Linked DNA regions of Homo sapiens: all the other regions are linked to region 7. Evidence: promoter capture Hi-C in 16 types of primary human blood cells and fetal thymus (Javierre and others, 2016). All regions are on one chromosome and are shown on one strand. The core of a region is centred on a gene start or on the middle of the fragment in contact, and the rest is flanking DNA. Distances in the headings are between cores, read along the strand shown. Region 1 overlaps LOC124902439 (a long non-coding RNA gene). Region 2 overlaps LOC124902439 (a long non-coding RNA gene). Region 3 overlaps LOC124902439 (a long non-coding RNA gene). Region 4 overlaps LOC124902439 (a long non-coding RNA gene). Region 5 overlaps LOC124902439 (a long non-coding RNA gene). Region 6 has its middle 190 kb from the start of LINC02671. Region 7 holds the start of LRRTM3 (leucine rich repeat transmembrane neuronal 3).

Region 1 (2,700 bases), core at 101-2,600, 2.9 Mb before region 7:
TAAAACCACAAAAGTTCCCAAATAGCTAAAGCAATCCTGAGCAAAAAGAACAAAGTTGGAAGCATCACAATACCTGACTTGAAAATTTACTACAAAGCTATAATAAGCAAAACAGCATGACACTGGCATAAAAACAGATGCATATTTCAGTGGAACACGATAGAGAACCCATAAATAAGTCCATGCATTTATAGCAAATTTATCCTCAACAGTGGTGCTAAGAACATACAATGGGGAAAGGACAGTCATTTCAATAAATGGGAAAACTGGATAACTATATGCAGAGGAATGAAACTAGACCTTATCTCTCACAACATTCAATTCAAAATGAATTAATGAATTGAAGACTTAAATCTAAGACCTGAATATATGAAACTAGTAGAAGGAAACATTGGGAAGCACTTTAGGACACTAGTCTAGGCAAAGACTTTTATTTTCTCTAAGACAGAACTCAAAGGCACAGGCAACCAAAGCAAAAATAGACAAATGGGGTTATAACAAGCTAAAAAGCTTCTGCACAGCAAAGGAAACAATCAACAAACTGAAGAGACAACCTACAGAATGAGAGAAAATATGTGCAAACTGTCCGTCTGACAAGGAATTAGTAACCAGAATATATAAGGAGCTCAAACAACTTAGTGGCAAAAACAAATAATCCGATTTAAAAATGGGCAAAAGATCTGAACAAACACTTCTCAAAAGAAGCCATACAAGTGGCCAAAAGGTTAACAAAAAAAATACTCAATATAACTACTCATCAGAGAAATGCAAATCAATACCATGATGAGATATTATCTCACCCCAGTTAAGATGGCTTGTATCAAAAAGTCAGAGAATAACAGATGCTGGTGAGGATGTGCAGAAAGGGGACACTCATGTACTGTTGATGGAAATGTAAATTAGTACAGCCACTATGGAGAACAGCGCGGAGATTCTTTGAAAAACTGAAAATAGAACTACCATATGACCCAGCAATCTCACTACTAGGTATACACTAAAAGAAGGAAAATCAATATATCAAAGAGACATCTGCACTCCCATGTTCATTGTGGTACTATTCATAATATCCATAATATGAAATCAACCTAAGTGCCCAAAAATGAATGAATGGATAAAGAAAATGTGGTGTATACACACAACAGAATGTTATTGAGTCTTAAAAAGAATGAAATCATGTCATTTGCAGCAACATAGACGAAACTGGAAGCTATTATATTAAGTGCAATAAGCCAAGCACAGAAAAACAGGTATCACATGATTTCATATATGGGAGGTAAAAAAGTGAACCTCATGAAGATAGCAAGTAGAATGGTAGTTATCAGAGGATGGGAAAGATAGTGGGGAGAGGAAGAGGAAGGGAAAAGAAAAGAATATAAATTTAAAAATAAATAAATAAAAAATTTCAAAAAAGAAAAAACCCATCCCATTTACAATAGCATAAAAATTACTTAGGAATAAGTTTAATGAAGGAGGTAAAAGACCAACACACTGAAAACTGTAAAACATTGATGAAAGAAATTGAAGACACAAAAATAAAAAGGTATTCTATGTTCATGAATTAAAAGAATTAATGTTGTTCAACTGGCCATATTACTCAAAGTGATCTACAGATTCAATGAAATTCTTATTAAAATTTCAATGGCATTTTTTACAGAAATAGAAAAAAAATTCCTAAAATTTGTATGGAACTACAAAAGACCCCAAATAGCCAAAGCAATCTTGAGCAAAAAGAACAAAGCTAGAGGCATCAACTATCTGATGTCAAAATATACCACAAAGCTACAGTAAGCAAAAACAGCATAGCACTGGTATAAAAAAAAGACAAATAGAAAAATGGAGATGGACAGGAAGCCTAGAAATAAATCCATGCATTTGCAGCCGACTGATCTTCAACAAAATTGCTCTGAACACACAATTGGGAAAGGACAATCCTTTAAATAAATGGTGTTGTGACAACTGGATATCCACATGCAGAAGAATGAAATTGGACCCTTATCTCACAACATATACAAAAATTAGCTCAACATCAATTAAAGACTTAAATTTAAGGCCTGAAACTCTAAAACTGCTACAAGAAAAACGTAGGATAAAAGCTCCATGACATTGGTCTGGGCAATAATTTTTTGAGTGTGACCCCAAATGCACAGGCAACAAAAGCAAAGATAGACAAATTGGAATATGTCAAACTAAAAAGCTTCTGCACAGTAAAGGAGACAATAAAGGGAGTGAAGAGACAACCTCCAAACTGGGAGGAAATATTTGCAAATCATATTTCTTATAAGGGGTTAACATCAAAAATATATAAGGAACTCAAGCAACTCAATAGCAAGAAAACAAATAATCCAATTTTAAAAATGGGCAAAGGATCTGAAGAGACAGTGCTCAAAAGAAGACATACAGATGGCCAACAGGTTTAAGAAAAAGTGCTCAACCTCACTAATTATCAGGGAAATGCAAATTAAAACCACAATGAGATATCACCTCACATAAGTTAGAATGACTATTATCAAAAAGACAAAAGATAACAAATATTGGTGAGGATGTGGAGAAAAAGAAATCCTTATGCACTGTTGGTGAGAATTTAAATTAGTATGGCAATTATAGAAAACAGTGTGGAGGTTCTTCAAAATTTAAAAATAGAACTACCATATAATCTAGCAGTTTTACTACTGGGTGTATATCCTCTACAACAGGACTGCT
Region 2 (2,700 bases), core at 8-2,507, 2.9 Mb before region 7:
CTTTTTCTCTCTGTCAATTTCATCCCCACCAAGCCATCACAGTACACAGAGGATAACGCAGGTGGGTGATAAAATATAGGGTTTGGGAATCTATCCATGCCTTTTCAGGCTCTGGGAATTTCACCATGAAAAGGGATTGGCACAATGAAACACGAATTCAACGTCCATTTAAGCATTTTTGAGCTTGTGTGAGCTTTAGAATTGAAGAGAAATCCCTGAGGATGCTTATGCAAGAGCCTAGTAAATGTTTTTTTCTTGACATATAAACAAATATTTTTTCTAGCTATTCGTTTCCAGGCACTGTGCTAGGAGCTTTAGGCTTAAAGATAAGTAAACAGGAGCCAAAGTTTTATGGAAAATTTTTTATTCAAATATTTCAAATTTTGTAAGTGCTGCAATCAATAAATATTCTAATTGTCATGGTTCCACTGAAGCCTTGTCTATGTGATGCTGTGATCAGGAGAGAGGCTCGAGGTTGTGGCGGCTCAGCTGCTGCTTCAAAGGAGTATGGGAGTTTGTGGATGGAGAAGAGAGTGGTGAGCTTTGCAGGCAGTGAAGACAGGATGTGCTGGTACAGGACTCTTTAATTGTCATGACTTCTTGATTTTCTGGGGTATCTTAAAAGAGACTTTGGCTCAAAGATCTGGGAAATTTTATTAAACTTGCGACATCTACCAGACCAAGAAGTTAGACAGAGCTGCTAAACCTAACTTTCACAAATATTCCCTGAACCCCCATATGATTATTTTCTCAATCTAGCCTCCTCCCATTACTATCACAACTCTCCTAATGAAACAAGCAGGAGGAGAAGTTTCTGACATTTCCTTCTCCAGAGGCCTTGTCTTCTTTGCTAGTTTATGATTTATAATTGTACATCAAAGTGCTCTGAATATCCCAAGTTACCTAAAATTAACATATCAGTTCACTGGGTTTGATACTATTGGAGAGATGGGGAAATATTCTCAAGCAATTGGTTGAAATCAAGGACATAAAAAGAAAGGCATTATGCAAATATTTGGTTATTAAGATTTTCTGCCTAGAGGGGATAAAGTCAGATAATGGGAAATAAATGAGATCAAAAGTTTCCTCTATGTTTTAATATTAACTTTCTTTAAGAGTAGTATTTGGCCTCTTTAGCATCATATCTTTATCAAGACAAAGGAACAGAAGCATAAGAAAGCACTGAGTGCTTTGGGGTGATATGCGGATATGGAGTATCGGGAGTGGACGTGAGGTAGGGGTGGGAGGGTGGAGTGGAAGAGTGAGGCCAATGAAGTAGACGAGTTTGACTATGGAGCACTTTGCTTATCATATGGGGCTTTTCTAATATGAGTAATAATCTGTTCCCAAACATCTAGTGAAGGTAATAACTTTAAAAATATACCTTTCAAGTTACAAGACAATTTCCCATTCATTATCTCCCATGATCATTACAGCAATTTGGAGGTGGACTGGTGCCTGCCCTAGGTCACACAACAGAGACTGAGATGCGTCTTTCTGAAGGCATGTTCTCTCATTTACTTGCTGAGAACAATTGGGATGACAGACCGTGAATAACTTGTTATCTTTGGGCATTGAGATTATAATGGATAATCTGGTTGGTAATCAGATTTTTTTAACTTGATGAAACTTAATTCTGGGATTACTGCATCTGACTTGAAGAATTTAGGCCACTAACTTCAGTGGGACTATGTTTCTGCTTGACTGGGGCTTTGATGGCTTATTGCCTGGGCATTGCAGTTTCTGGGCACCTCAGATATTAATTGAGGGAGAACCCAATGACTCTGGCTCTACAGGAATTTTTTTTAAATTTTATTTATTTATTTATTTATTTTGGAGACAGAGCCTTGCTCTGTCGCCCAGGCTGGAGTGCAGTGATACAATCTTGGCTCACTGCAACCTCTGCCCCCTGGGTTCCAGCAATTCTCCTGCCTCAGCCTCCCGAGTAGCTGCGATTACAGGCACCCGCCACCACGCCCGACTGATTTTTGTATTTTTAGTAGAGACCGGGTTGCACCATCTTAAGACAGGCTGGTCTTAAACTCCTGACCTCAGGCAGTCTGCCCACTGCGGCCTCCCAAAGTGCTGGGATTACAAGTGTGAACCACCGCATCTGGCCTGGCTCTACAGGACTTTTTAAAGAACCTCTATCCCCAAGTCGCATATGAATGGTCAGTCTGGGGGGATTCCATGGACTTCAATTATTCTTTACTAAATCCTCCCAGGGGGAGGCCTTATTCATTTTTTCCTTAGTCTTTTTCTTTGTGGTTTTATAAATTTCCAGTCTATGAACTTTAAGTTGGAGAACTGAGCTGAAAAAGAATGCTTAGATCTGATTCTCATTTTTTAGCACTACAATAAACTATTTGTTCTAAAATAGCTTTATTTTCTAAGTCTTATTCTTCCAACAGGATTGTAAGTTACTGGAGGGCAAGGACCTTTCTTCTAGATCCTTTGTTTTTCACATATTACTTTTGACCCTTCTAGCCTTTATATCCTGATTTTAGAAAGGCTCAAATAAAATCTTGCATCATGTGGAAACGGCAGAATCGGGTAGTTAAGAGCCTAGCTCTGGAGGAAGATGGCCTGGCTTTTAAAATTACAACTTCATCACTTACTAGCAGCATCATTGTAAGGAAATTATGTAACTCTTTGAGTTACATGTATATATATCAAAGAGTTTTATATATATATGTATAG
Region 3 (2,700 bases), core at 96-2,595, 2.8 Mb before region 7:
TTGTGTTTCCTTATTGGTAGGATAATAATAACGCTATCTACCTGAGAGTGCTTATCTATTCATTTATTCCACAAATGTGCTGAATGCCTACTATACATTGGGCATTGTTTTAGATGCTGGGGAATACAGCAATGAACAAGACAGACAAAAACCCCTACTCACTTACGTCCTAGTGATTGATAAAGATAATACATAAATAAGAAAAATAAGTAGAATATAGAGTATGGTAGATGGTGGTAAGTGTGAGGAAGAAAATTAAGCAGGAAGGGGAAATGATTTATTTGGGTGTGGTTTGCACTCTTAGACATGCTTGCTGAGAAGCTGCTATGGTTTGAATGCATGTGTCCCTCCAAAATCCACATGTTGAAACTTAAGGGCGTTAATCCTATTCACAAGGGCTGAGCCCTTTTGACCTAATCACTTCCCAAAGACCCCACTTTCTGATATCAGCAGTGGTATTTATGGACTGTTTATAAATGACCCAGTCTAAGGTATTTTGTGATAGGAATAGACTAGGTATTTTGTTAGTAGAAACAGGCTAAGACAGGAGGCCTCACAGGAACGTGGAAAGTGGTAATTAGTAATGACTAAAGTAACTGAGACAGGGAATCGTGTGGCTATCTGGAGATAAAAGCATGCCTCATGTGTTGTGTGTGAGTGTAGTGTGTATGGGGGAATCACAATGGAAATAACAATATCGTTCATAGCAGGTACTCAATACTTGTTTGCGAACTATGAAGAAACAAAAAATATGATGTGTCCACAGATTCTGTAACGGGAAATATGAATCCGGAAAGAAGGGCTTTACAAATAAAAATGCAAAGCAAAAAATGAAAGCACCATTCACCTTAAACTGGCAACACTGAGCGTGTGAAGAAATCTTGGTGAAATTTTTATCGATCAGTTGCCAACAGCCAGCCCAGCCCTTATGCATGCCTGAAGACTTCTACTGACTTAGTTATTGTTCATTTGCATACTAGAATTCAACATGGCCTTGGGTAAATTTTATGAACTGCAGCTCCATCAGAAGTAGCAAGGGGAGATAGCTTTTAAGCTTGATGTCAAAGAGGACACGGATCCCTCTCTCAGCCCTTCCTTTGTAGTTGCCTCTATAATAGGGTATTGAGCTTAACGAACCATTGATCTGACCAGCTCTAGCATTCTATGATTCTTTTCAGTGACCTAGGATGACTTTTTACTGGACTCTGAGATAGCAAATAGGTTTTAGCTCTTGTTCCAACTCTGGTTAGTTGGTAGTGACTGACGGGAGTACAGTCGTGATAAATGCTAAGCCCTATTTGGGCTCATCAGGAAAGACGGCTGTGATTAATTAGCAATGTCTGCCATGGTGGTAGAGATGGTTGCTCACATTTTCCTACCCTATACATCTCCATGTACGCTGTATGAGAAACTGAGCCAAAACATGGGAAACAAAGCCTTTTGCTACAGGCTAATGTTTAAAGACCAAACTCCCCTAGATGTGAAATAACAGAGGTGTATGTATTATGACTTGATAGGAAGACTCTTCAAGGAGAAACTGAAAGTCCATCTGACATTTGCAAAGCATCAGAGATTTGTGAATGAACTCTGGTTATGTTAGAAATAGACAGTAAAGTAATGGGAAATGAAGATAGATCAAGCTTTGATTTATTTGGCCATTTGATACCACCTTTGACAACTTTGTCTAATGAAATGTGAAAAAAGTGCAGAGCACTAGAGCATAACAGAGTCTCATTTCTAAGTCATAGTGCCCAGCCGACCAAGGGAAGCTGAGCCCTAGGCATAGAATGACTGCTTTAATTCCAGGCTGCCACTCTCCTCTGCTTGACATTTGACAGTGTACTTAAAAGTGCTCCTAAGCACATCAAGGGAAATGAATAAGTAAATAATTGGTTGCCCCTTTAAAAATAGAAAATATCAGGCTAGGGTTTAATTAACTGCCATAAATTATTCTCAAGCTAACTGTTCAGAGAAGAGCCACTTTTACCCTTTGCCTCCGATGAAGGAATATGGTTTAGGTTATTTACAGTTTCACTTTCTAAAGAGGAAGTATGAGGTAGTGAGTTTCCCATCACTGAGAATACTAAGGGATAATTTTCTGTACTACTCTGTTGGAGGTTAGACTAGAAAACTATTGCTAACCTATCTCCAAAGATGCTTTTCTTGAAGCCATTCATGAAAATGTGTTTTGGGCAAGGCTTAGCAAAATGAATAGAGCAGTCATTCTTTTCTATTTTTGAAAAATGTTACCCATTTCTGTATAAACCCATTATTCATGTGAGGATAAATAAGGCTCATCGTGTGGAAATAATGGGGATCCAGGAGAGAATAGTCTAGCTCAGAAAATGTTTATTAACACGGACTATGTGTAAGGCATGGATGGGGCCAGACTCCATGGAAACTGTGATATTAACATCAACGTCATCAAACCTAATGAAGGATGACGTGGCAGATTTGCAAATAATTATCATGTAGGCAGCAGGTGATAGGAGATTTAGAATACAAATAAACTACGGTGGGTAGATAAAAGAGAGAGGTATTAATTCTACAAAAACTAAGAGTGATAGATGACAAGGAGGACAGTCAAGGAAGGTTTCCTAAAAGAAAAGACATTTGAACTGAGATTTCACGAATAGGAGGAGGCTTTTACAAGTACAGGTAGGGAAAGGACAGCTTATGCCCAGGGGACTGTGATGACCA
Region 4 (2,700 bases), core at 113-2,612, 2.9 Mb before region 7:
TATTAAAAGCTAATGATTAATAATGTTTATAATAATGATTGATAATTGTCCATGATCATCTCTATATCTAATTTGTATTATGACTATTCTTATTTTAACTATTTTCTTTATTATACTGAAACAGTTTGTGCCTTCAGTCTCTTGCCTCGGCACCTAGGTACATAAGCACTTTCGTGCACATATACCCACATGTTATCTCGTTGTTTCTTAATCTTGCTGCCTATTTCTGTTTGTTGCTACCAAAAATTCCAAAATAATAGGGTTCAGGAGGGAGAATTTGGAGCTGAATGTTGGACAGGGGGAATTATTTCTATCCCTCAGATTAGGTGGTTTATCAGGGAGAGGGCTGCTGGAGGCCGATGCAGTTTTGAAAATGGGCAACAAGACATTTCTCAGTCCTGAATCAAAATAAAGCCACAAAAGATCTTCCCATAGAGGGTAAAGGGATTACATCTTTCATATGGGATTTGACATTGTATTTTCTACTTTTTTCTCCCCCTGTGCATGTTGGGAGTGTGACTGATCCATGAAAACTTTTCCAGTCCTGGCTTTCATGATTTTTTTTCCCCTTTCAGAAAAAAATAGTTATTATAAAAGAAGCACAACTCCTCTAGCCTCTCCAAAATAGAATAATGACATTTTCATAGCAAGCGATTGTGGGAGGAAGTGCGGGGATGTTGCACTGGCTGAAATCCAGTGGTTTTTAAAGAACCAGAGAAAGGTCATTCACCTCTTAAAAAGTGACAGTTGTGAAAACAAGCCAATTTTGGAATTTGTCATCGTGCGTTAACAGCATACCCTTTTGTAGTTACTGATATCTGTCAGGGTAAATGCCAGCAATAAAGAGCTTGCTTGCAGGCTTTGCTGAGGAGGTAGAAGTCTTGTATTTTAGGCCTGTACACATTTCTTTGGCTTGTTGGAAGCAGAAGTGGTTGAAAGAGCTTTGGCCTGGGACTTCTGATGCTTTATTTATCCTGGCTGTGACACTGAGGAGCTTCTTGACACTGTGGTTCACAAATCTCTCTGGTTCTCAAGTCCCTTCATCTGTAATGTGAATGAGAGTTAAAAAAGATTAACTCTAAGATCCTTTCTTGCTCAAAAATTCAGTAATTCTAAGATCTGGATAAATGCCAGAAAACACAATGGTCTCTGTATCAATACTTTATTTTTTCTCCAGGAAATAATTGGTTCCTTAAAAGACCTTGCCTAGGGTGGATGGACAGTTTGCCAGTTGCATTTTGGAAGAAAAGCTTCTATTTAGCAGCACTTTCTCTAAACCTTCCTTGACTTGCGTTAAGAGAGACCCTGGTGTGGCCAGATCTGTATCTTTGCACCTTGCCTCCTAAGCCCGAGTCCTCATGACCTAACTTAATATTTGAGCCAATTGCTCAGAGTTGCTCCCTTTGGTGTATCTGTGCCTGGATCTCAGTCCTAAAAATGACATTTTGTTGTTCAGGATGATTAATATTAAAATTGAAGCTTTTGAAAGTACAAAACAAACTAAGACACCATGGAGTCTGTGATGGTCAGTTTTATATGTCAGTTACGCAATCAAACACTAATGAGGGGTTGCTGTGAAGGTATTTTGTAGATGTGATTAATGTTCATTATCAGGTGACTTTAAGTACAGGGAATTATCCTGGGTAATGTGAGTGGGCCCAATTCAATCAGGTGGAAGGTCTTAATGGCAGAACTGCAGTTTCCTGGAAGAGGAAGAAATTTCATGTGTGACTGTAGCTTCAGCCTATGTTCAAGAGTTCCAGCCTATCTTTCTTGGTGGCCTGCTCTAAGCATTTTGGTCTTGCCTAGCCTAGCCCACAATTGTATAAGCCAATGACTTGCAATAATCCCTTAATATCTATCTCCTACTGGTTCTGTGTCTCTGGTAGAATTTTGGCAGATGCAGACCTCAAGTCCTGCATTTTATAGAGAAACTGGGGTTCAGTCCCCAGAGTTCGTTGATGGGACAGCCAGGTGCCCTGACTTTCAGGTCTATAAACTTCTCACAGAACCATATTTCTACTGCCTAGAATCCAGTCCTCAGTGTGGACACCAGGGCATAGATTTAATACATGATGGAGTCATGCCTCCTCACCCTGTGCTTCCAAATGGGTTCACTATGTCTTGGTAGATGGGTTCACCATTTTTCAATGTCTTCTGTGTTGAATGTCCTGGTGGAAATGCAAACATAGTGCCCAGGAACATTACAACCCATGGGACTTTAGCAAGAAAATCTAGTGCTCAGATTTTGTGGAAAGTTACTTAGCAAGATGTTGAGGGATACTGGAATCTTAGAAGAGCAATCCAGCTGCATCTGTGAGCCATGACAAAAGTGTTATAAGGCTGCAAAGATACTTCTTGTCCATGCTTTTCCTTGGAAAAGTAAAGCTCTTGTGTAGTTGCTCTTAATTTTTTTTTAGAATTGACTGAGAGGCCTTGGAGAATCTAATGCAGATGTAGTGGGTGGCTGTTCCATGCATTATAGAATGTTCAGCAGCATTCCTGGCCTCTACTCCCTACTAGAAGCCAGTAGCATTCTCTTAGCCGAGACAACCAAAAGTGTATCTAGGCATTGTCAAATAGCTCTGGAGGGCAAAATCACATCTGATTAAGAAACACTGACCTAAGAGAAGCCAGAAAATTGCACATATGAAGAAAATTTTGCGTATGATTTAAGGGTGTTCCTAGACCTCCCTAAAA
Region 5 (2,700 bases), core at 136-2,635, 3.0 Mb before region 7:
GCAATCCTGGAACCCTAGGCGTTCTAGATGCCGCACGAGATCCAAAGTCCCTTGTCTCCTGCCCTTCCCCCTCTTACTGGACCCTCCTTGCATGCAAGCCACCTCCATTCAGTCAGGAAATGGGGTGCTCTCGCGCTCTGGCTTTGAGCATGTTCTGCCTCTCAGTGACTCCGGGAAAAGGACCAGAGGACACACGGGAACTGATTTCCCAAGCTGCCGCCCCGTACCAGGCGCTGAGGGGTTCGCAGGCCCTGTGGGTCCGGGCCTCCGCAGTGGCAGTCCTCAACAGTCCCCAACAGCGTGGGACCCACCTGAGCCCAAACTCCTGCCTCAGAGGCAGGAGGTCCCGAAGCGCTCGACAGGACGCCGGGTGGGCGGCTAAGATTGCCCTCTGGCGCCCTTCGCTGGTGCGCCCTTTCTTTGCCACGTGCTCCAGTGACTGTCGCCAGCACCGCGTGGGATAGCGCCGCCTGCGAGCAGAGTCGATAGCTAGGCGATCTCTGCGCCTAGCAACTACAACAGAGCTCAAACGGCTCCTCACAGGCAACTCACTGGCAGCTTCGCCCACTGGTCCCTGCGCCGCCCTTCCCCCGCCCCCGCCACTCCGCCTGGCCAGATCGCTCGGTTCCCTGCAGCTCTCCTGGGCCCTGTTCGCGGGTTGTTCTATGAGCATTGCGAGCTTTTGCCTCTGTGCAGCAGCAGGCTCAGCCCTCCGTTCTGAGCAGTGTCTGGGGGGGACACTCTGTGTTCCAATGGGCCACTTCGAAGAATCAGGCCACCCGGGAACAATAAACATCCCTCTTCCTGGGAGCAAAGAGACCATCCTCCGTTTGCCACCTTAGCCGCTAGTCGTCCCTTGAGGCTGGTGCCATCAATCACTGGGTAGATCCTTGTCCAAAGGAGACTGAGTGAAGGGCCCTAGGAGAGGACAGGAAAGAAACAGCGAAGGAAGAGGACACCAACTAGTGAGCAACGGTGGCAGGATCAGAGAAGAGGCCCCGTGGCAGCAGGGGTGAATCATCAGCATACAGTGGCAGTAGGAGCACTAAGCCATCAGCATCTAGGCCTATGGAGGCCACTGGACTGTTGTCTTTTTTCCGGTGCAGTCGAGGGTCTCTGTCTTGAGACCTCCAATCTGGGCTCCCAGAAGACGGCTTGAGTAAAGACAGCCCAGACGTCTTCAAAGAGCTCATCCTGCTCCCCCCTGCTCAAGAGGCTGACAGAGACAGTGCTTGATGAAGGCCGTCGGAGAGCTCTCCACTCACTGATGTTGGAGGAGACTAGCAGGGAAAAAAGCTTCCAGACACCATTTAGATGCTTGTCAAGGAGAAATTCTTCACCCACATCTGCCAGCTGTAGGCCTCGTTGATGGAAAATTTCAATGTTGCTGCTGCCGCCACTGCTACTGTTGTGGGATGGAGGTGAGCTGCCTTCCTCCCCTCCTCAGCTTCCTTGTCTAGTCATTAGAGAAGACCTAAGCTTAGAGAAGAAAGCTGAGTGTCAATGGCTCAATAACATATCGGAAGTTAAGACTGAAGCCACCATGGACTGCAGTGTCACTCAGCCTGTGGGTTCTATTGCTCTGCCTGCTGTAGGGAATGAAAACATCCTGCCCCTGGTCACTTTCACCTTGTGGGTCTTGCGTGTTAAAACATTCCCAGTTGCAAACTTAGCTGACCAGTCTGCCAGGGCCCCAGTCCTGTCTGCCCTTCTATCTTCTCACACTCCAGAGACTGACTGTAGAATGAGATGCACATTCCTCTCCTGATTCTCCATTTGCTGTTTGTGCTGACTGTCTTTCTCCTTTTAGGTTCAAGCTCATTTTGGGGGTTCCACTTAGTAATAAGAACAGAGGACCTGCATTCCCATCCCTCAGTCATAGCTGGAGTGTCTTCTACTACTGTCCTCCTCACACCTGCCAGCACCTTGATTTTCTCCTAGCTTGCCTCCTGCAGAATAGAGTCACCTATGGACTCTCCAGTGGATTCATGGATACCCTCCCCCAGTCACCTCCGCCAGTACTCAGCCTTCTCCCACCAGCCTATCACTGCTTCTGCAGTCATGTCCTCCATTGCAACCAGCACGTCTGCACGGTTGAACTCTTAGCTACTTTGAACTTTGATGTCACTGGCATGGACATCACTCCCCCTTCTCAAGCTTTCTTCCTGAGTTCTCCTTCAGGCTCCAGAGAGAACATCTTCCCATTTTCCATGGAGCTCCCTGGTTCTGAGAACATGTCACCCAGGAGCAGCATTACCTCAGCCTGTTCCCACCAGTTTGTCTGCACAGTTGGTCAGTGGCCCAAATGCAACTTTCAAAGTTATTGTGGCCCAAGAGCCACTGTTTAGCCCACATTTGAGCCCCTTCTGGGCTGAAGCTTGCAGCTACCAGCTTTGGTAACTTATTGACATCAGACAGCCCCAGTAAGAGCTTCAGACTTAACCTCCACTGCAGCCCAGCCACTCACTGACAGCATCAATAAGCTTCGTGGGTTTTACATCCTTATTTTCCCTTTGGCATCCCTTTCAGCACCCAGCTGCCCTTTGGATGCACCTCAGACATTTTGCCTGTTGGTACAGCCACTACTTCTAGCTTTAGAGCCCCCACCAGAATGCTAGCCCTGGGGCTAGTAGTTCACTGCTTGCCAAGACTACTGCAGGCCCATTTGTGTTTATGGAATCTGCAGCCCCAGTGGGGAGC
Region 6 (2,700 bases), core at 76-2,575, 2.2 Mb before region 7:
TCCCCAGTAACATGTCATTTCATTCAATTTTATTATTCCATAGTGGAACCCTGACAGATAACACCAAGTTAAACATTGACTGAGTTAATTTTCAAGGATTGCAATGTTGTATAGGGAAGTAAAAGTAAATCATGAAATTTATAAAAATAAAAACAAATTACTTTAATGATAAAAGTAATTTTCCAAGGGGGAGTTTGCATTTACACATTATGTGCAGATAATTTCTTTTTCAGAGAAGTATTTCAGGAGTATTTTGTTTAGATAATAAACTTGGCATCAGACTGCTTGGGCTCAAATCTAGACAATACCCTTGCTAGCTCTGTAAACTTGGGTGATTTACATAACTTTACCATGTCTCAGTTCTCTAATTTATAAAATGAGGATAGGCAGTTTCTAACATGTGGTTTTAGGAGGGTTATTACAAAGAAATCAGTTAGAACATTACTTGTCATACTGAAGAAAATGAGTTCTCTTTTTTATCAAATTTAACATTCTTTCATATAGGAAGAGGTCCCTGAAAATATTTCATGTTCTTGTCCTTTTTTGCACTAAAAAATACATAGCTTTAGTTTTCAGGAAACTTCAAGTAATTACTTTTTTAAAAATTACTTTCACTACTTGTAATTTGTAAAACACCAGGCCAGCACCTGAAATACAACTGCCACTTTTCTGCCATCTCCTAGCACCACACTGTAATAACTCTGAATTATATAGGATTGGAATTATATATGAAGTGTTCCTCAATAATTAAACTTTGTCCTGTAGTTAAAACAGACATTCAGGTGAATTGGAGTGTGAAGAATTGTCTGGTCCATTAAATTAGCCTGGTGCTATCTGTTTCTTATCCTCTTTACTTGAAATTTTCTATGTGATACCCCTTGACTAAGAAATAATCATTCCTAGTAAGAGGAAATTGATCACAAACATGTTCTACTTGTGAGGAAAACAATAGAAACAAAAACTCAGTTAATAGTGAACTACATCTTGGGGAAAATACATTCAATTGCTTTGACCACCATAAACGAATCTGGATGGAATTCTGACTTATCTTTGGAAAGATGGTTGATCTTAGCTTAATCACAAAAAGGAAGACAGTGATAAAAGAGTGGGGGGAATGCTGAAATGAGTTTTTCCAGAGCACAGAAGTAGGTAAAGTTGATTGATAGCTAGTGCTACTCTCAGTGTAAGTTTCCATCAATATAATTAAATTAAAAGTGAAGAGTTGGTTTGGAATTTTCTCATCACTTCTCAAAATCACAAGGGCATCTGTTAACAAAGCTGCTTTTTTACACACAAGAAACTTCAAGGGAATTGAAACAAATAAGACCAGAATTATGAGACTATCGAACTCTTTTGTCTTCATTGTATTTCATCAAGTCTCTGTTTTAAAGCAATGAAGTAACAATATAAGGGTTACATTTCAGATGAGTAGGCACTCTGAGAGTTTTTATCTGATTTTGGATTTAACCAAACAACTTACAAGTCATTTAGAAACTAAATTCCTTCCATTCATTCAAAAAACATTAATTAAGCACCCATTATGTTTCAGGCTAGGTGCTGTGGATACAGAATAAGAAAATATTTAGAAAATTTTTATTGATAGTTTAGAAAGATGCAATATGTAATCTCTTAGAAACGTGAGCTTCTGTCATTGGGTACAATAAAACATAAAACTATCTCTACAAGAACAAAATGAGAGAATAAAGCAAAATAGCAATATATGAGAGAAAATTACAGGTATTCATTGACTATCACTTTGCTGTAAGTCAATGGTGGGGTGAAGTTACCTAAAATTTAATATGATTTTAGGGTGAGTTAGGTTGTCAGTAGCAGCTTCCTGGTGGTCTCGTGGTTAGGATTTGGTGATCTCACTGCTACACCCCAGGTTAGATTCCAAGTCAAGGAAATCTTTCTTGAAAAGAAGTCAAGAGAATGTTGTAATAGTTTTCTCCTTGATTAGATTACACTGTGGGATGAAAACACAGCTAAGTAATTCATTTGATTCTATGTTTTCTACTTTAAGAAGAATCATGTCAATATATGAGTCGAACATTGCAACTACTATAACTGAGCAAAACTTAAGAGACTTGTGAAAGGTAAAAATGTGTGCCCTAATATTTTTGCCCTATGTGAAAGAGTGATTGAACTTCATTGACTCTTGAGGGCAGACAAGAAATAATGAGATAAATTTATAGCAGTAGCTAATGTTGAGCTTAGCTACTTTTTTTTTTTTTTTCTCAGAATTGAGGCAACACTTCAGCTGCTGGGAATGATCTTCTGCAAGGACCTTCTGCTCCTTTGTAATCTTCCTAAGCTGAATACAGTCTCTTCACCCAAGAGTAAGTCCCCTCCCTGGGGATAGCTCAAGTCTAATGGTCAGTTGGTAAGGTAAGTAGAACCCTCCCATGTTCTTTTGCTCAAGGCAGGGCAACTTAAAAGGCCTATTTTAGCTCCAAATGTCCATAATAGAGGCCTCTTGCAACCACAGCTAAACTCCTGCCACTGCCCAGTCCTACTTCCTTCACTCCCCCAGACTTGTTGATGTAGGGGTTACCTTTCAGTAAACCTGTACACAAATCTCCATCTCAGAGTCTATTTCTGGGAATCTAGCTTAAGACATAGTAGATTTGAGTTCAGCATTAGGAGAAACTTTCTTACAAGTAGAATTGTCTCAATGGTATGAACTCCATCTAGAGATTG
Region 7 (2,700 bases), core at 132-2,631:
GTCAGTATAGTCAATATTCAGTACGTAATCCTAGCAAGTACAAATAAAGTTAATATTATTCAAATATCTTACACAGGCTTATTGCATGCAACACACTGTTCTAAGTAACATACAGATATTAAAATGACTTAATTCTCAAAACATGAAGTGAGTTTTTGTTTTTATGCCCGTTTTGCAGATGAGAAAACTGAGGCATAGGGAAGGTAAGTAACGCGCTTAAGGTTACATAGCTGGTAAATTGTAGCCAGGAGTTGGAATCTAGGTGCCAAAATCTATGCTGTTAATCACTAAACTACGCTGCCTTAGTTTTTATACTTCTTTAGGAACCTCAGACCAAAAGAAATTTAGGCAATTCTAATAGAACAAGCAAGAATTTGCTAATCACAGCTTCCTTGCCCCAATCCTTTAATCGGCTTCATTTTCACTGACTTCTTTTTTAAATGAAGATAACAATGTTGTTGAACAGGATCATCTAGTGGTTAGTGGTTCGGCATAAGAATGACTCGCTTCTGAAGCTCAGCTCTAGCACTCGCTTGCTGTATGACCTTGAGAAAGTTACCTCCCCAAGTCTGTTTCCTCATCTTTAAAAGAGAGGTTATAATAGGACCCACATCATACTATTGTTTAAAGAGAAAACAACGTAGCCCATTTAAAGCACTTAGAAAGTGCTCCATAAATATTATTAGTGTAATAAATAGCAGCAACATCAATAAAGTATGAACCAAATGATCTCTTGATTCGTATCCTAACACTAAAAATGGTTTATTTCCCTTCTAATTAAAAGAGAATTACAACAACCAAAACAACAAACGAAACTATAGCCATAAAATCAATTATATCGTCTGTGAGAAAACCGGAAAGGCTATTGGACACATTAATTCACTTGTCATCAGTCATCCCCTCTATTCCAAAATGTTTGTGTTCTAACATCCTGAGACACCTTGCATAATATAATCACTGTGACTCCAAGAGGTCAAATGGGCAGGCAGTTAATGCTTCTCTGTGAAAAGCTCAATAATTCATTTTATAAATTTCAGTTTAAAGCCTGCGTTGAGGTTAAGAAAAATTGACGTTCGGTCTGTGAACTTAATGTCAAGCTCCAGAAAAACTCTGGGCAGCACATGTTTAGCAATTAAGTGGACACAGACAATAAAGACGTTGCCAAATTGTAAAACAAGACTTGGAAATCACAGAAAATGTTGCTAGTTATTGATCACGGTGACCATTCAGTTCCTACTGAGCCACCCAAAAGAATCATTCATTTTCCAGCAGAGAGCCTGCTCATTTGCAAGATAAAAGAGAGACATTTCTGCACATGCCCATAATGTTCTTCACCACTGGGGGCAGCTTTACATAAGACTGCATTCACTGAAACCAAAGCAACAGTCCGAGCAGCTTTCAGAATGACAGTCTGCAGAAGTGAGCTGAGCGTGTGCGCGGTACGGGGCTCTCCTGCCTTCTGGGCTCCAACGCAGCTCTGTGGCTGAACTGGGTGCTCATCACGGGAACTGCTGGGGTATGGAATACAGATGTGGCAGCTCAGGTAGCCCCAAATTGCCTGGAAGAATACATCATGTTTTTCGATAAGAAGAAATTGTAGGATCCAGTTTTTTTTTTAACCGCCCCCTCCCCACCCCCCAAAAAACTGTAAAGATGCAAAAACGTAATATCCATGAAGATCCTATTACCTAGGAAGATTTTGATGTTTTGCTGCGAATGCGGTGTTGGGATTTATTTGTTCTTGGAGTGTTCTGCGTGGCTGGCAAAGAATAATGTTCCAAAATCGGTCCATCTCCCAAGGGGTCCAATTTTTCTTCCTGGGTGTCAGCGAGCCCTGACTCACTACAGTGCAGCTGACAGGGGCTGTCATGCAACTGGCCCCTAAGCCAAAGCAAAAGACCTAAGGACGACCTTTGAACAATACAAAGGATGGGTATGTTTTGTCATTTTTCTTCTTTCCTTCTTAAAAACAAAAAACAAAAAACCTCTAGTGTGTGTAATAATTCTGCCTTAATTATTTTAGAGATTACCTTGCTCTGCTCTAAGACTATGAATTTATTTGCTTAGTGGCATGTTTCCTTGTTTAACTATTTAAAAAAACAAAACACTAAAGACAATTCTCTTTAATTACAAAGAGATAATATGTGATGTTAAGTGTTATTTAGATTTAAATTTTTAAAAATGAAAAATATATGCCTATTTTTGCTTGATTAAGGATTAATTCTTTTTTGGGGGGATAACTTTTCTAAGTTGTTTTTATTTCCAGGTTTCAATGTAATTAGGCTACTGAGCGGATCAGCTGTAGCACTGGTTATAGCCCCCACTGTCTTACTGACAATGCTTTCTTCTGCCGAACGAGGATGCCCTAAGGGCTGTAGGTGTGAAGGCAAAATGGTATATTGTGAATCTCAGAAATTACAGGAGATACCCTCAAGTATATCTGCTGGTTGCTTAGGTTTGTCCCTTCGCTATAACAGCCTTCAAAAACTTAAGTATAATCAATTTAAAGGGCTCAACCAGCTCACCTGGCTATACCTTGACCATAACCATATCAGCAATATTGACGAAAATGCTTTTAATGGAATACGCAGACTCAAAGAGCTGATTCTTAGTTCCAATAGAATCTCCTATTTTCTTAACAATACCTTCAGACCTGTGACAAATTTACGGAACTTGGATCTGTCCTATAATCAGCTGCAT

Evidence for each region. Contacts are between HindIII fragments. The CHiCAGO score rates a contact against its expected background, and 5 or more counts as called.
Region 1: a fragment that was not itself captured here is called in contact with the fragment with the promoter of LRRTM3 in region 7 in 3 of 17 cell types (M0 macrophages, M2 macrophages and endothelial precursors); the score reaches 8.1 in M0 macrophages.
Region 2: a contact is called between a fragment that was not itself captured here and the fragment with the promoter of LRRTM3 in region 7, in 2 of 17 cell types (endothelial precursors and M2 macrophages). The highest score is 10.5, in endothelial precursors.
Region 3: a contact is called between a fragment that was not itself captured here and the fragment with the promoter of LRRTM3 in region 7, in 2 of 17 cell types (M2 macrophages and M0 macrophages). The highest score is 7.1, in M2 macrophages.
Region 4: a fragment that was not itself captured here is called in contact with the fragment with the promoter of LRRTM3 in region 7 in 2 of 17 cell types (M0 macrophages and M2 macrophages); the score reaches 5.3 in M0 macrophages.
Region 5: a contact is called between a fragment that was not itself captured here and the fragment with the promoter of LRRTM3 in region 7, in 3 of 17 cell types (M2 macrophages, endothelial precursors and M0 macrophages). The highest score is 9.8, in M2 macrophages.
Region 6: a contact is called between a fragment that was not itself captured here and the fragment with the promoter of LRRTM3 in region 7, in 1 of 17 cell types (endothelial precursors). The highest score is 7.8, in endothelial precursors.

What each region holds. Positions count from the first base shown.
Region 1 is chr10:64,047,814-64,050,513 of GRCh38, forward strand. The region is part of intron 2 of LOC124902439 (a long non-coding RNA gene); the gene reads left to right. Among named protein-coding and RNA genes, the nearest start is that of REEP3, 530 kb to the left of the region's middle. The HindIII fragment of the contact is 1,684 bases long and covers 509-2,192 here.
Region 2 is chr10:64,028,922-64,031,621 of GRCh38, forward strand. All of the region lies in intron 2 of LOC124902439 (a long non-coding RNA gene), which reads left to right. It overlaps LOC105378333 (a long non-coding RNA gene), which reads right to left. Exons shown (of 3, transcript XR_946014.3): 3 at 398-617. Among named protein-coding and RNA genes, the nearest start is that of REEP3, 510 kb to the left of the region's middle. The HindIII fragment of the contact is 3,255 bases long and covers 1-2,700 here.
Region 3 is chr10:64,111,130-64,113,829 of GRCh38, forward strand. The region is part of intron 3 of LOC124902439 (a long non-coding RNA gene); the gene reads left to right. Among named protein-coding and RNA genes, the nearest start is that of REEP3, 590 kb to the left of the region's middle. The HindIII fragment of the contact is 586 bases long and covers 1,053-1,638 here.
Region 4 is chr10:64,066,510-64,069,209 of GRCh38, forward strand. All of the region lies in intron 3 of LOC124902439 (a long non-coding RNA gene), which reads left to right. Among named protein-coding and RNA genes, the nearest start is that of REEP3, 550 kb to the left of the region's middle. The HindIII fragment of the contact is 229 bases long and covers 1,249-1,477 here.
Region 5 is chr10:63,973,161-63,975,860 of GRCh38, forward strand. All of the region lies in intron 1 of LOC124902439 (a long non-coding RNA gene), which reads left to right. It also overlaps the pseudogene LOC100420828. Among named protein-coding and RNA genes, the nearest start is that of REEP3, 450 kb to the left of the region's middle. The HindIII fragment of the contact is 183 bases long and covers 1,295-1,477 here.
Region 6 is chr10:64,737,460-64,740,159 of GRCh38, forward strand. No RefSeq gene overlaps it. Among named protein-coding and RNA genes, the nearest start is that of LINC02671, 190 kb to the right of the region's middle. The HindIII fragment of the contact is 2,982 bases long and covers 1-2,700 here.
Region 7 is chr10:66,924,655-66,927,354 of GRCh38, forward strand. LRRTM3 (leucine rich repeat transmembrane neuronal 3) reads left to right here and starts at 1,382. Exons shown (of 3, transcript NM_178011.5): 1 at 1,382-1,933; 2 at 2,267-2,700. The coding sequence starts at 1,930. The region is part of intron 7 of CTNNA3 (catenin alpha 3); the gene reads right to left. The region is part of intron 3 of LOC101928961 (a long non-coding RNA gene); the gene reads right to left. RefSeq lists an enhancer at 769-1,625 and a silencer at 1,245-1,354. The HindIII fragment of the contact is 12,033 bases long and covers 1-2,700 here.